2 separate regions of the Homo sapiens genome follow, and region 1 is linked to region 2. The links are contacts of gene promoters, found by promoter capture Hi-C in blood cells and fetal thymus (Javierre and others, 2016). All regions are on one chromosome and are shown on one strand. The core of a region is centred on a gene start or on the middle of the fragment in contact, and the rest is flanking DNA. Distances in the headings are between cores, read along the strand shown.

Region 1 (6,660 bases), core at 2,904-5,403, 3.8 Mb before region 2:
CACCTTCCCTTTTGAGGTGGTCTTCTGAACCCCATATCGCTCTTCATGATTGCAGGCTTGGGCAAGGGGGTAGCGGTCGTCGTGGTAGTAATTAAATCCTGGAGGTTTCTTCTATCAATCTAGAGCAGCTGTTCTCAGCCCTGGGCAATTTTGTCCCCTCAAGGGCATTTGGCAAAGTCTGGAGAAGTTTTGTGATTGTTACACCAGGAAAACTCGTGCTTGTATTGAGAGATTAGACGATAAGGATGCTGCTAAACATCCTACAGTGCATAGGACAGCCTTCTGCAACAAAGAATGATCCTGCACAAAATACTGGAGTGAAGAAACCCTGAGCTAAGGCAATTCTTTGGCGGGATCAGTGGCAAGCCATTACATTCACTGCTAGTGACAGATGAGCTTCCTGGCTCCATAAAGGGAATCTGGGCAGGGCATCAGAATAGTACCTTTTGCAGATGCTTTTTCAAAATATGATGTTAAACAATGAAGGAGGCTTGAAATGCTGTTCAGTTAGCATTCTTTTGTGATCCTGCATTTCATTTAATGGGATAAGACTAGCATCTTGATATATATATCACTAAGCCCTTAGGTACATTGCTCAGAAATCTTGTCAAAAAACACTCTTATGTCAGCTGTAGCCATTTTGGATTTTCTTTGGAGCTTTATCGAACTTGTGCAAAATTGGAATTGGGCTGAATCCTCCCTGAAATACTCATTACTATGCTACATTAGTGCTAACACTGTGCTCCTTAGCAAGTTTAACTCTAACAACTGTAATGTGAATGGGCTAAAGGATTGGGGAAAAGAACAAAAATAGCTGCACTTAAATCCAGAGGGGTTTGAAAACCACTGGAGGTCACCAGTGTCAGACTCATGGTCTTCTTAGTCTACATCCTGTTGGGACCATCCCTTAAACCTCTTTTACAGTCCTGTATTTATCTGTCAGTTACCCACGAATTTATCTGTGTCCTCTTAGAAGCAGTTTATAGCTTGGAATTGCAAAACTCAGGGTATCAATGGCAGGAAATATTTGCAAATTATGCCTCCAACAAAAGACTAATATCCAGAATTTACAAGGAACTCAAACAACTCAACAAGGGGGAAAAAACCCAGTAAAAAGTGGGCAAAGGACACGAACAGACATTTCTCCAAAGAAGACATACAAGTAGCCAATAAACATGAAAAAATGTTCAACATCACTAATTAGAGAAATGTAAATTAAAACAACAATAAGACATTATCTTAACACCAGTCAGAATGGCCATTATTAGAAAGTCAAACAACAACAGATGTTGGCATGGATGTGGAGAGAAGAGAATGCTTATGCACTGTTGGTGGGGATGGAAATTAGTACAACCTCTACAGAAAACGGTATGGAGATTTCTCAAATAAATAAAAATAGAAATATAATTTGAACTTGCAATCCCACTACTGGGTATCTACCCAAAGGAAAATAAATCATTGTATTACAAAAAGACACTTGGCTGAGTGCAGTGGCTCATGCCTGTAATCCTAGTACTTTGGGAGGCTGAGGTGGGCGGACTGCCTGAGCTCAGGAGTTCGAGACCAGCCTGGGCAACATGGTGAAATCCTATCTCTACTAAAATACAAAAAAATTTAGCCAGGTGCGCACCTGTAGTCCCAGCTACTCGGGAGGCTGAGGCAGAAGAATCACTTGAACCCGGGAGGCAGAGGTTTCAGTGAACCAAGATCGCACCATTGTACTCCAGCCTGGGCAACAGAGCAAGATTCCATCTCATAAAAAAAAAAAAAAAAGAAACCTGTACTCATATATGTATTGCTGCACTATTCATGATAGCAGTCATGAAATCAACCTAAGTGTCCATCAGTGGTTGACTGGATAAGGAAAATGTGGTGGCTGGGTGCAGTGGCTAACGCCTATAATCCCAGCACTTTGGGAGGCCAACGTGGGTGGATCACTTGAGGTCAGGAGTTCAAAATCAGCCTGGCCAGCATGATGAAACCCGTCTCTACTAAAAATACAAAAAATTAGCTGGGTGTGGTGGCACACGCCTGTAGTCCCAGCCACTCGGGAGGCTGAGGCAGGAGAATTGCTTGAACCCGAGAGGCAAAGGTTGCGGTGAGCCGAGACGGCGCCACTGCACTCCAGCCTGGGCGACAGAGCGAGACTCTGTCCCAAATAAATAAAATAAAAAATGTGGTATAATTACACCATGAAATACTATGCAGCCATAAACAAGAATGAAATCAAGTCCTTTGCAGCAATATGGATGGAGCTGGAGGCCATTATCTTAAGTGAAATAACTCAGAAATAGAAAATCAAATACTATAAGTTCTCATTTATAAGTAGGAGCCTAAACAATGGGTACACATGAACATGAAGATGGAAATAGTAGACACTGGGGACTCCAAAGGGGGGAGAGTGAGAGGGGTAAGGGCTGAAAAATTACCTAATGGGTACTGTGTTCACTATTTGGGTGATGGCTAACTAGAAGGACAACCCCACCATTATGCAATATATCCATGTAACAGAATTGCACATGAACCCCCGAACCTAAAATAAAATAAATTTAAATAAAAAACTCATGAGTGCCATTGTATTACCACTGTTATACAAAAGGATTTTTTTCAAACTTCAAAATGTGTTATCCAGTTTGTACTCTAACTTTTGTATTTTTTTAATTTTTTTTAAATTATACTTTAAGTTTTAGGGTACATGTGCATATTGTGCAGGTTAGTTACATATGTATACATGTGCCATGCTGGTGCGCTGCACCCACTAACTCGTCATCTAGCATTAGGTATTTTTACTCTAGTTTCATGATCCTAGTATTAGTTTTTTTTTTCCTTTCTTAAAATGAATCATCACTGTGTTCAATTCTGTTTTTAAGAGTTCTAACACTAGGCCAGGAGTGGTGGCTCACTCTTATAATTCCAGTGCTTTGGGAGGCTGAAGTGGGAAGAGTGCTTGAGGCCAGGAGTTTGAGACCAGCCTTCACAACATAGCAAGACCCCGTCTCTACTAAAAAAAAAAAAAAAGTTAGCTGCGTGTGGTGAAACATACCTGTAGTCCTAGCTATTTGGGAGGCTGAGGTGGGAGGATTGCTTGAGCCTAGGAGGTTGAGGCTGCAGTGAGCTATGATCCTGCCACTGCACTCCAACCTGGGAAACAGCACAAGACCCTGTCTCTGAAAAAAAAAACAACAAAAAAACAAAGAGTACAATTGTGGATAAACTTATTCTTGACAAAAATGTAGTCAAATGGAAATATTGTAATGCCACATATGTATTTTATATATTATATATATATATATATATATATATATATATATATATATAGAGAGAGAGAGAGAGAGAGAGAGAGAGAGAGAGAGAGAGAGAGAGAGAGATATGGAGTCTTGCTCTGTCACCCAGGCTGGAGTGCAATGGTGCAATCTCAGCTCACTGCAACCTCCACCTCCCAGGTTCAAAGGATTCTTTTGCCTCACAGCCTTCCGAGTAGCTGGGATTACAGGTGGTGCCACCACACCTGGCTAATTTTTTTGTATTTTTAGTAGAAACAAAGTTTTCCCATGTTGGCCACAGCAGTCTCAAATTCTTGACCTCAAGTGATCCACCCGCCTAGGCCTCCCAAAGTGCTGGGATTACAGGCATGGGCGACCGTGCCCAGCCTGTAATCCTATATTAAGTGAAGAAAGCAAATATAGATTATGACATTCTTTTGTTGAAAATACTTCCCATACTTTTATGAATAGGAGTCTGAAAAGATGTATGCCAAAATAATAACAGTGGTTAAGACGTAGTTTGCAAATACTGTGTAAGATTCCACCACCTCCCCAAAATGGCTCAGAGAATGAACTAGCGCTATAAACAACTTATTCAGGAAGCTATTTTTCAACATAGGTTAAAGCTCCATTCTTTGAGATAACATTGTTTTAATCACCTATATGCATGCCACCTTCTGGAAACAAGGAGTATTTCACCATTAAAAGACTTCTAACAATAGAACTTGGTAATAAAGCTGACATTGGAATTGTTTATAAAAACCATTTTTAATTTAACATTTAATTTGGAAGCTTATGGATCACAATCAGGGTTGTTAGACCAGAGGAGGGGCCAATTTAATATAATGAAAGATGATAGGTTACACACTTGTCCTACATAAGTTGGTCATGGAAAAAACTTTATCTTATTATTTTATTTCATGTTCTCTATAGGCCAGAAGGAAAAACTATTTTTAAAACAGTGGAAGGCCATTCAAAAGTAAGCTTTCAGAAAATGAAAAGATAAAAAACACTGCAACATTTGAATGCTCAAAAATGATGAAAAATTGCATTCCTGTTTTCCCCTCTAAACCAGAGCTAATTTAAAACATTAAAATAATGTCTTTATTCTCAAGCAATGTCTGTATTCAGAAATAGAAACTCAATTTGATCTATGAATCAATATAGCTATGTCTCAAAAATGAACCAAAGTAGGAAAAAAAGCATGTTGCAGAATTACTTTCATAGTGTGAGAATGTGCCCATATAAAGTGGGTCTAAACACAAAGCAACAGGGTCCATAGAAATGGATGTAGAAATAGAAAAGGGTCTGAAGTGATAGCTAGGACTGCCTTTGAGGAAGCAGGAGAAAGAACCAAAGTTGCATGGCAGCCAAAAGGAACTTTATGTTCTTAAGTGAGAATGAATCTATAACTTATATTTACCACTAATAGAAATGCAAAAATAAGAGAACTATTGCCTGCAAGAAAACAAAAACCAACAGAAACCCAAAACAACAAAACCTTGTTATATACTTGAAACTATCCGTATTTTGTGATTTAGCAGATGCAGTATATATTTCTTATAATGACGGCAGCACTGAACCATGTTGTCTGTTTTCCTGTGTTGCAGTCCTGTGTGTGTGTGTGTTGCCAGACACATAATAAAGTACCCAGGAAATGCACAGCTCTAGTTTGCAAAGTGCTTTCAATTAGAATTTCCTCATGGATAGCATAGCTTGTTTCAGTTGATTCTCTGGCATTAATAATTTAAAAATATTAATGCTTGTGACCTACAGGAATGAGGTCCCATGGCAGATGTAAAGATTATTTCTTTTTTTTTTTTTTGAGATGGAGTTTCACTCTTGTCACCCAGGCTGGAGTGAAATGGCACAATCTCGGCTTACTGCAACTTCCGCCTCCTGGGTTCAAGGGATTCTCCTGCCTCAGCCTCCTGAGTAGCTGGGATTATAGGCACACACCACCATGCCTGGCTAATTTTTGTATTTTTAGTAGAGACGGAGTTTCACCATCTTGGCCAGGCTAGTCTCGAACTCCTGACCTCAGGTGATCCACCCCCTCGGCCTCCCAAAGTGGTGGGATTACAGGTGTGAGCCACCGCTCCCGGCCAAGATTCTTTGTAAAGAAGCTAATTTGGAATAGTTTAGTCACAGGCCTATCTCAAGGGACCTTTTGAGAGCTTTATTAAATCAAAGTTGGCATCAATTCATTGTCAATATTGAGTGCCTATTACTTGTAAGGCTCAGTATGGTCTAAAGCAGGCAGGCTTGGCTTTAGAATGTGAAACAAAGTAGGTGGTAATAACAGAGGGAGTCAACTCTGTAATAGTGTAGAGCCTGGGCCTAGGAATCAGACTCACCTGGGTTTCAATTCCCATTGCACCACTTACTAGCTGTGAGATCCTGTGCAAGCCAAGGGAATATATAATGCCTACTTCATAGAGCGGTCAGGAGGGAGAATGAGATCATTACAAAGGGTTTGCTGCAGTGCTGGCACATAGTAAATATTCAGTTAATGTTAGCCCCTGTTACTATTAATTTTTTTTCTGAGTCCTAATGAAGTTTCAAGAATGTCTCCTTAGAATCATAAAACAGCTGGAGATTGAAAAGACTTTTGAAGTTTTCTGGTTATCTCCACTGTCCTAGGAGAGTACTTTTCATCCCTTTTCCACTGATACTTAAAACCACGGAATAAATACCACAACTGGATTATTCTAATTAGTGGTGGAATAACAGGAAACAACATGTGTGGAAAGGCCAAGGGAATATGTGGGGGAAGAGGGAAACCAGCGGGAGAGGCACTGAGAGAGTGTAAGGGGCACACTCCAAAGGGAGAAAATACAAGGAAGACAAGTAGAAAAAAAGACAGAAAAGATGTCCTCAGACAAGTGTAAGGACAAGAGTGAGAAAAAGGAAAGAAGGGGAATACAGAGGGACCTTAATTTGTGAATGCAGTCACCGACACGGTTTAAGAGTCAAACGTTCTGAGTTCTAATTACTGTAAAATGCATGGTTATAAAACGTACTGATTAACCTCTCTGAGCCGTTTTCTTTAGAGTTTGCAGCGTAGATTAGATGAGATTAGCGGGACGGACGCTCTGTTAAAGAGAAAACTCTTCAAATAAGCCGTTAAGAATGAGAGAGAAAGCTGCAGAAAAAGAGAAGTGGAAAGAGAGAGGGAGGAAAGGGAAAGTGTAAGAGGAATTGTTCACAAGGCAGGTGAGAACTAAGGGAAACCACTGTAACGGTGCTGCTGTGGCTACTGCGGTGACTACTTCAGCACATCAAGCGTTGACAACTTGCCAAGTTCGTTATTAGAGTTCTACATGCACAATTTCATGCTACCCTCACAGCATTTCTATGGGGCTAGGTTCTCGCATTATCCGCGTTTTACAGAAGA
Region 2 (7,100 bases), core at 1,269-3,768:
ATAGAGGCCAATATGCACAATATTAACTAATGCCAAGACATGGCTGTTTAAAAAATTTAATGTTCAAACAGTTATCACTGATGCTTTTGCACTATTTATTAATAAAATCATATATTGTGTACTTCTTTCACTGAAGTTTTTAAAAGTACATTAAGGGTAATCAGTAGTTCCATGGTAATATAGGAATAATTTTTAAATGTGTAGCAGAGTTATATCAAATTTTTATTGCACTTAATACTTTTGCTACAGCAATTTCTATAGTAAAAATTTACTGGTTTAATTTAACTTTCTGTATCAATATAATTTTTTTTTTTTTTTTTTTTGCGACAGAGTTTCGCTCTTGTTGCCCAGGCTGGAGTGCGATGATGCAACCTCAGCTCACTGCAACCTCTGCCTCCCCGGTTCAGGCAATTCTCCTGCCTCAGCCTCCGGAGTAACTGGGATTACAGGCGCCTGCCACCATGCACGGCTAATTTTTTGTATTTTTAGTAGGGACGGGGTTTCACCACGTTGGCCAGGCTGGTCTCAAACTCCTGACCTCAGGTGATCCACCCCCCCCCGCCCCCCTCGGCTTCCCAAAGTGCTGGGATTACAGGCATGAGCCACCATGCCTGACCATGTTTTTGTTTCTTTTAAGTGAATAAAACTTCAAACAAAATTAAGTACAAATACTAAAAAAGTAGGTGCTAGTATTTTAATATGAGAACATGTATGTGTTCTCATTCTTTGTTTTTGACTTAGATATGGCAGTTTTCTGTTCAAATGTTTTTTGGTTACTTATGTGTCACTGAGTTAAGTTTTCAGTAATCTTTCTAGCTACATATTGACAAATAAGTTTTATTATAAAACCATACGGAATAAATTTATAAGCTCTACCTGAAAAGTTACAGGTGTAGCTTACAATTTTGAAAGTGAAGGAACTAAAATTTAGCACCATATAGGTGCTATAATAATTCTCAAAGTAGCATTGTAAGAAGGTGACTCTATCTGAGAGCTGAATAAATAGTTTTAGATGGTTTAGGTAGGTCATTTCACCAAAGCTGTACAATTAGAAGTCTTGGAACTGTAACTGTACAGCTAATTTCAACCCGAATCTGCCCCAAATCTCCTCTGCAGACTACTTAGCTGTTTGAAAGTACTTGAGTTACTTGGTACTACTTGTGTACATGACTAAATTGTTAGTTTTAACATGCAAGTTTTTACTGTAGTTAGATAAAATTATTGGAAGATGATTATAACTTCTTAAGGGGTTCAATCTGATTTTTTAAAAGAAAAATAATTCTTTTTTGCAGAGTTCCTTGCAGTGGGGTAAAATATTCAAATATGGGAGGCAGGCATATAAGGTAAATAATCACAGCAGGGAGGGTGTAATAGGATGAGTGATAGGGGTCTGTGGCAAACTGGAGTGAGTGAAAATTATTTGGTGACCACTCTGGCTGACTATTCCCATGCTTGGTATTCATATTTTTCAAAAGCAGCTGGAAATCTAGATTTTTGAATGAAATCTGGCTTTTAGTTAGGATTTTGTCTTTAACTTGGGCCCAAACCAAATATAGCTGCAGACTGGATTAGGAAGGCCACCAATTTAAGGTATTTTCCCATGTCCAAATGTTCGAAGAGAATGCACACAGAAAAGGTTATGTTTTAAGTAATATGCACAGTGCACATTGTTAGGATAACAGCTTTAGTGCTTCCTAGGTGTCTTAGTCCATTTGGACTGCTGTAACAAATTGCCATAAACTGGGTGGCTTATAAGCAGTAGCAATTTGTTTCTTAACAGTTCTAGAGGCTGAGAAGTCCAAGATAAGGAGCCGGCAGATTTGGTGTCTGGTGAGGGCTGCTATTCTGGCTTAGAGTTGGTGCCTTCTTGCCGTGAGCTCCCTTGGGCCTCTCTTATAAGGGCACTAACCCCATTTATGAGGGCTCCATCATCATCTAATCATCTCCTAAAGGCTCCCCTTAATACTGTCCCATTGGAGATTAGGTTTCAACATAGGAATTTGTGCAGGGGACACCGACAGACCACAGTATTAGGGGTATTTTGACTGCAGCAATGAGTTTACTACTATTTTGAGAGAGAGGTTGTGCTTTATGCACCATGTGTTCCACGAGTTGGACACAGTGTTCATACGTGATCCTGTCTTTTAGGCAAGCCCAAACAAGTGTTTCTCCTTACAATACCAAGTTAATACAGAGCTTATTAAATATTTGAGACAAAGGGCTAAGAGAAGTGTGAGGCCCAATTTCCCTTTGCAATTATTGCTGGCAAGGTGCAAGCTTTTAGCACGTGAACTATTTTCCTGGAAAGCACACACACGAAAACTTGAATATTCCTTCCGGGGAAATCGACCTCTATCGGTAGCCATAGCTTCCCCTTCGCTAAGAACTGCTGTAAGCACGAAATCGACATCAATAGAAACCCTTCCGCGTTCCTCGGTAACTAACGGCAACCCTGCGCTCCCGGATGTGACGTCAACGTTCTTCTGTTCTTCCGTCTGTCGACCGAACTCTGGGCTCGTAGATTTGGTTGCTGTGTACGTGGAAGAAGCAAGCGCATGCGCACATGGGCCCCCTTCGTCTCAGCTGTGCGGGAACGGCCGAGGGTAACATCCCGGGCTCGCGGGAGGCTGTCGGGGTAATGGCCACACGCTGACAGAACCAGCCGAGTGGAAAAGGGGAGCGAAGCCGTTCCTCTGCACCCTTCCCCAGGCCTGAGGCCTTCCCGCTTGGTGCTGCCGCCGCCACTGCCGGCTGAGGAGGGGCGATGAGTTGGTTCAACGCCTCCCAGCTCTCCAGCTTCGCTAAGCAGGCCCTGTCCCAGGCCCAGAAGTCTATTGACAGGGTTCTGGACATCCAGGAAGAGGAGCCGAGCATCTGGGCCGAGACCATTCCGTATGGAGAGCCGGGTAAGAGAGAGAGGAGCGGGGTTCCTGGCTCCCGGAGGCTGCTGTTCTCTTGATGCAGGCAGGTTAAGTGGTGTAGAGAGGGGTCCTTCCTTGCTGAGAGAGTTTTCAGGAAGTAATTTCTCCCCGGCCCGTTCCCTAATGCTGCTTCAGCCTCCAAGTCGGTCTTTGCTGTTTTCCTGAGGGAAAACCCAGATCCAGGTTCCCCCTTGTCTTTCTTTGGTCCTGGGTGCGAGGCTTGTGGACTTGGATGACAGGGGACTTGGTTGGTTGGTCTTGCCCTCAAGCTCTCCCTCGACGCAGCTTCCAAGCACAACCTTCCCGAACCTGAACCTCGAATTGCTTCGCGTCTCGGGCACTGTTGGGATCCAAGGTCTGAAGTACGTAAATCATCAGGGAAGGGAAGAACAATCGCTAACAGTCAGTGAACATTTCGCGCTTGGTAGCGCGTAATGTGGTTTTATGTTGTTGTTGAGACGGAGTCTCACTCCGTCGCCCAGGCTGGAGTGCAGTGGCGCGATCTCGGCTCACTGCAACCTCCGCCTCCCAGGTTCTAGCGATTCTCCTTCCCCAGCCTCCCTAGTAGCTGGGATTACAGGCGCCCACCACCACGCCCGGCAACTTTTTGTATTTTTAGTAGGGACGGGGTTTCACTATGTTGGCCAGGCTGGTGGAACTCCTGACTTAAGGCGATCCACCCACCTCGGCCTCCTAAAGTGCTGGGATTACAGGCACGAGCCTGTAATGTGCTTTTTTATGGCCTTCTCATCTTCAGAACAACTCCCAGAGAGAGCTTGGTTTATATCCGTGTTTTACATAAGAGGAAAATGAGGCCCAGAATGGCCAAGTAACTTGCTCTAGGTCACACGGCGGAGGAGGATTAGAATGTGCCGGAGGTATTAGCCGGAAAATGTGTGACCCAAGATTTCTGGATGGTATCACATTTTATTTCTGAATAGCCAAGTCTCTCTTTGCAGTTTCATTGAGCTTAATCTTTCAGGGATCTTCATTCAGTTGCTTTTGACTCTTAAGTCTAAGGAACAGTTCAGCATTTGATGTGTGGGGTAAAGATTTGCTGGTGTTGGGGGATGTGAACCTTTGTGTGAAAAAGGATAAGAGATGTACTTGACTACTCCTTTCTGGTTTCTGTTCTTAATTTTACATCATTGAAAAGTCAGGACCTAAATTTGAGGTACCTCAGTTTAAGATATTTTGGTCCATGTGTGTATGTGATGATCCTCTTTACTTTTTACAAGATGTCATATAACCTTGCTGGAGTAACTCTGTTTTTTCATATGTGCCCCAGTTAATTAGAATTACTAAACTTTAGATAAGATAGAATATAGGTTTTACATATAAGGATATTTGTTTTCGGAAAATGCCCATAGTCTTCAGAATGGTATAATTTAGATGGATACCAAATAACCCTGGGATTATATAAAGTATTCTCCAAGAGGCAAAATTAATTCCTGTCATCTTTTGAATGTATTTAAATTAATCAGACATAATCTTGGTTGTTCATTTGCATATTTAATTTTGATTTTCTCTGGTTTGGATATTGTGCAAATGAATGTGTAGAACTATGCCTCCAAACTGAAGTTTTCTACATACTTTTCATCCTAACTGCCTTTGAAGTCATACATATATTTACATATATATATATTTGTTTTTTTGTTTTTTTTTTTTTTGAGACACAGTCTCACTCTGTCATCCAGGCTGGAGTGCAGTGGTGCCATCTCTGTTCACTGCAGATTCTGTCTCCTGAGCTCAAGTGATTCTCGTGCCTCAACCTCCCGAGTAGCTGGGATTGCAGGTTTGCGTCACCACACCTGCCTAATTTTTGTAATTTTAGTAGAGACAGGGTTTTACCATGTTGGCCAGGCTGGTCTTGAACTCCTGACCTCAGGTGGTCCGCCCGCCTCGGCCTCCCAAAGTGCTGAGATTACAAGCGTGAGCCACTGCGCCTGGCCTGAAGTCATATTAAAGGATAGATTCTACTATAAGGCTTGATAGTTTTTAGAAGCTTTTAGTTACTTGTGCTCTCTCCACCAACTTCTAATTGTGAATATTTTGTGAATATTTTGTTCAGCCACATTTTAATTTGAAAAAGAAAACATTTTTAAAGAAATGCTTTAAATACTTTAACGAATATACCATTTTTAAGATCCTGATTATGCCATTTTTAAAAATCAGGATTTTAGTAGTAGCTATTTGTATGACTGATATGATAATTAACTTTTTCCCCAAGAAAACAGTCATTTTCTTTGTAGCGCTTTTTTAAAAACCCTAGTGTCAACCACCTCTATGTCAAAGAGCAATAGTTCTTAAAAAAACACACATTTCTGAAATTTATAATGACCTTGTAATTTCTGACATAATTTAGAATTTGAGAACAAAACTTCCTCTTAGAGTGGGCTTGGAGAGTGGGATTTAGAGAATCAGCCTGTGATTAAGTGGATGAAAATGAATTTGTTCTCTAGAACTTACCATTCCCATCAGTTTAATATGATCTTCGGGAAAGAACATTTGTCACCATTATCTTGGTTTGAGGCTTTTGTTGTTTTGTTTGTTTTCGAGACAGGTTCTCGATCTGTCACCCAGGCTGAAGTGCAGTGGTTTGATCATGGCTCACTGCAGCTTCCACCTCCTGGGCTCAGATGATCTTCCCACCTCAGCCTCCTGAGTAGCTGGGACCACATATGTGGGCCACCAGGCCCAGCTAATTAAAAAAATTTTTTTGTAGGGACAGGGGTCTCACTATGTTGCCCAGGCTTGTCTTGAACTCCTGGACTCAAATGACTCTTCTAGTGTTGGGATTATAGGTGTGAACCTCCATACCCACTGAGTTCAGTTTTTGAGTGTTGCCCTTTGTCTAGCTCATAACTATATTACTGATATTACAAGTAAAAATTAATATGAAACTGACTGAATAGGTAGGGTCATTTTTCTGTGACTGCACATGGCCCAACCTATTCAGTTAGTTCCATATTAGTTTATTTCATATTGATAAGTAAAGCGTGTTATTATGAGATGAATCATAGGTATCTTGGACTTACTGTGGGTTATAAAACATATACTGTTACTTCCTTAATTTGTTGTGGGGAGGAATAACATACTCGCATCTGGTAGTCCAGGCCAGGCCCAGTCTTTTGTCTGTGCTCCTCCTTCCTCTCAGGTGGACCCACACCAGTTTTCTTCCGTAAGTCCCTGTATTAACTTGGAAACTACTTAATGATGTAGTAAGCAAGGAGTTTAGCAGGTGCAAATTACAGGTATTTCATAGGGTATTTTTTCTAAATTTATATTTATACTGATTTATAATGATGATTGAAATATTAATGTAACATATATGTGTTCTTTTTTAATATTTACTTTTTTGTTAAAGGAATAAGTTCCCCTGTCAGTGGAGGATGGGATACTTCAACCTGGGGGTTGAAATCAAACACTGAACCTCAGAGTCCACCAATAGCCTCTCCTAAAGCAATCACAAAGCCAGTTCGGAGGACTGTGGTCGATGAATCTGAAAATTTCTTCAGTGCCTTTCTCTCGCCAACTGATGTCCAGACCATTCAGAAGAGTCCAGTGGTATCAAAACCTCCAGCAAAATCACAACGACCAGAAGAAGAAGTGAAAAGCAGCTTACATGAATCCTTGCACATTGGCCAGTCAAGAACTCCTGAAACAACTGAATCACAAGTAAAAGACTCTTCTTTGTGTGTTTCAGGGGAAACTCTGGCAGCAGGTACTTCATCACCTAAAACTGAAGGCAAGCACGAAGAAACTGTTAATAAAGAATCGGATATGAAGGTGCCAACTGTAAGTTTGAAAGTATCTGAAAGTGTAATTGATGTGAAAACAACTATGGAAAGTATATCTAATACGTCTACGCAGTCTCTCACAGCAGAAACAAAGGACATAGCTTTGGAACCTAAGGAACAAAAACATGAAGACAGGCAGAGCAATACACCTTCTCCTCCTGTTAGTACCTTTTCATCAGGTACTTCTACCACCAGTGATATTGAAGTTTTAGATCATGAAAGTGTAATAAGTGAGAGCTCAGCGAGCTCGAGACAAGAGACTACAGATTCAAAATCAAGTCTTCACTTGATGCAGACATCTTTTCAGCTTCTCTCTGCATCTGCTTGTCCTGAATATAATCGTTTAGATGATTTCCAAAAACTCACTGAGAGTTGCTGT

Evidence for each region. The method cuts DNA at HindIII sites, captures the fragments that hold promoters and counts their contacts. A CHiCAGO score of 5 or more calls a contact.
Region 1: a fragment that was not itself captured here is called in contact with the fragment with the promoter of TMF1 in region 2 in 1 of 17 cell types (total B cells); the score reaches 5.9 in total B cells.

What each region holds. Positions count from the first base shown.
Region 1 is chr3:72,848,765-72,855,424 of GRCh38, reverse strand. No RefSeq gene overlaps it. Among named protein-coding and RNA genes, the nearest start is that of SHQ1, 3.6 kb to the right of the region's middle. The HindIII fragment of the contact is 192 bases long and covers 4,058-4,249 here.
Region 2 is chr3:69,047,751-69,054,850 of GRCh38, reverse strand. TMF1 (TATA element modulatory factor 1) reads left to right here and starts at 2,518. Exons shown (of 17, transcript NM_007114.3): 1 at 2,518-2,906; 2 at 6,289-7,100. The coding sequence starts at 2,765. It overlaps UBA3 (ubiquitin like modifier activating enzyme 3), which reads left to right. Exons shown (of 18, transcript NM_003968.4): 18 at 1-121. MIR3136 (microRNA 3136) reads left to right here and starts at 5,816; the gene lies at 5,816-5,893. RefSeq lists an enhancer at 2,457-2,926. The HindIII fragment of the contact is 2,649 bases long and covers 2,280-4,928 here.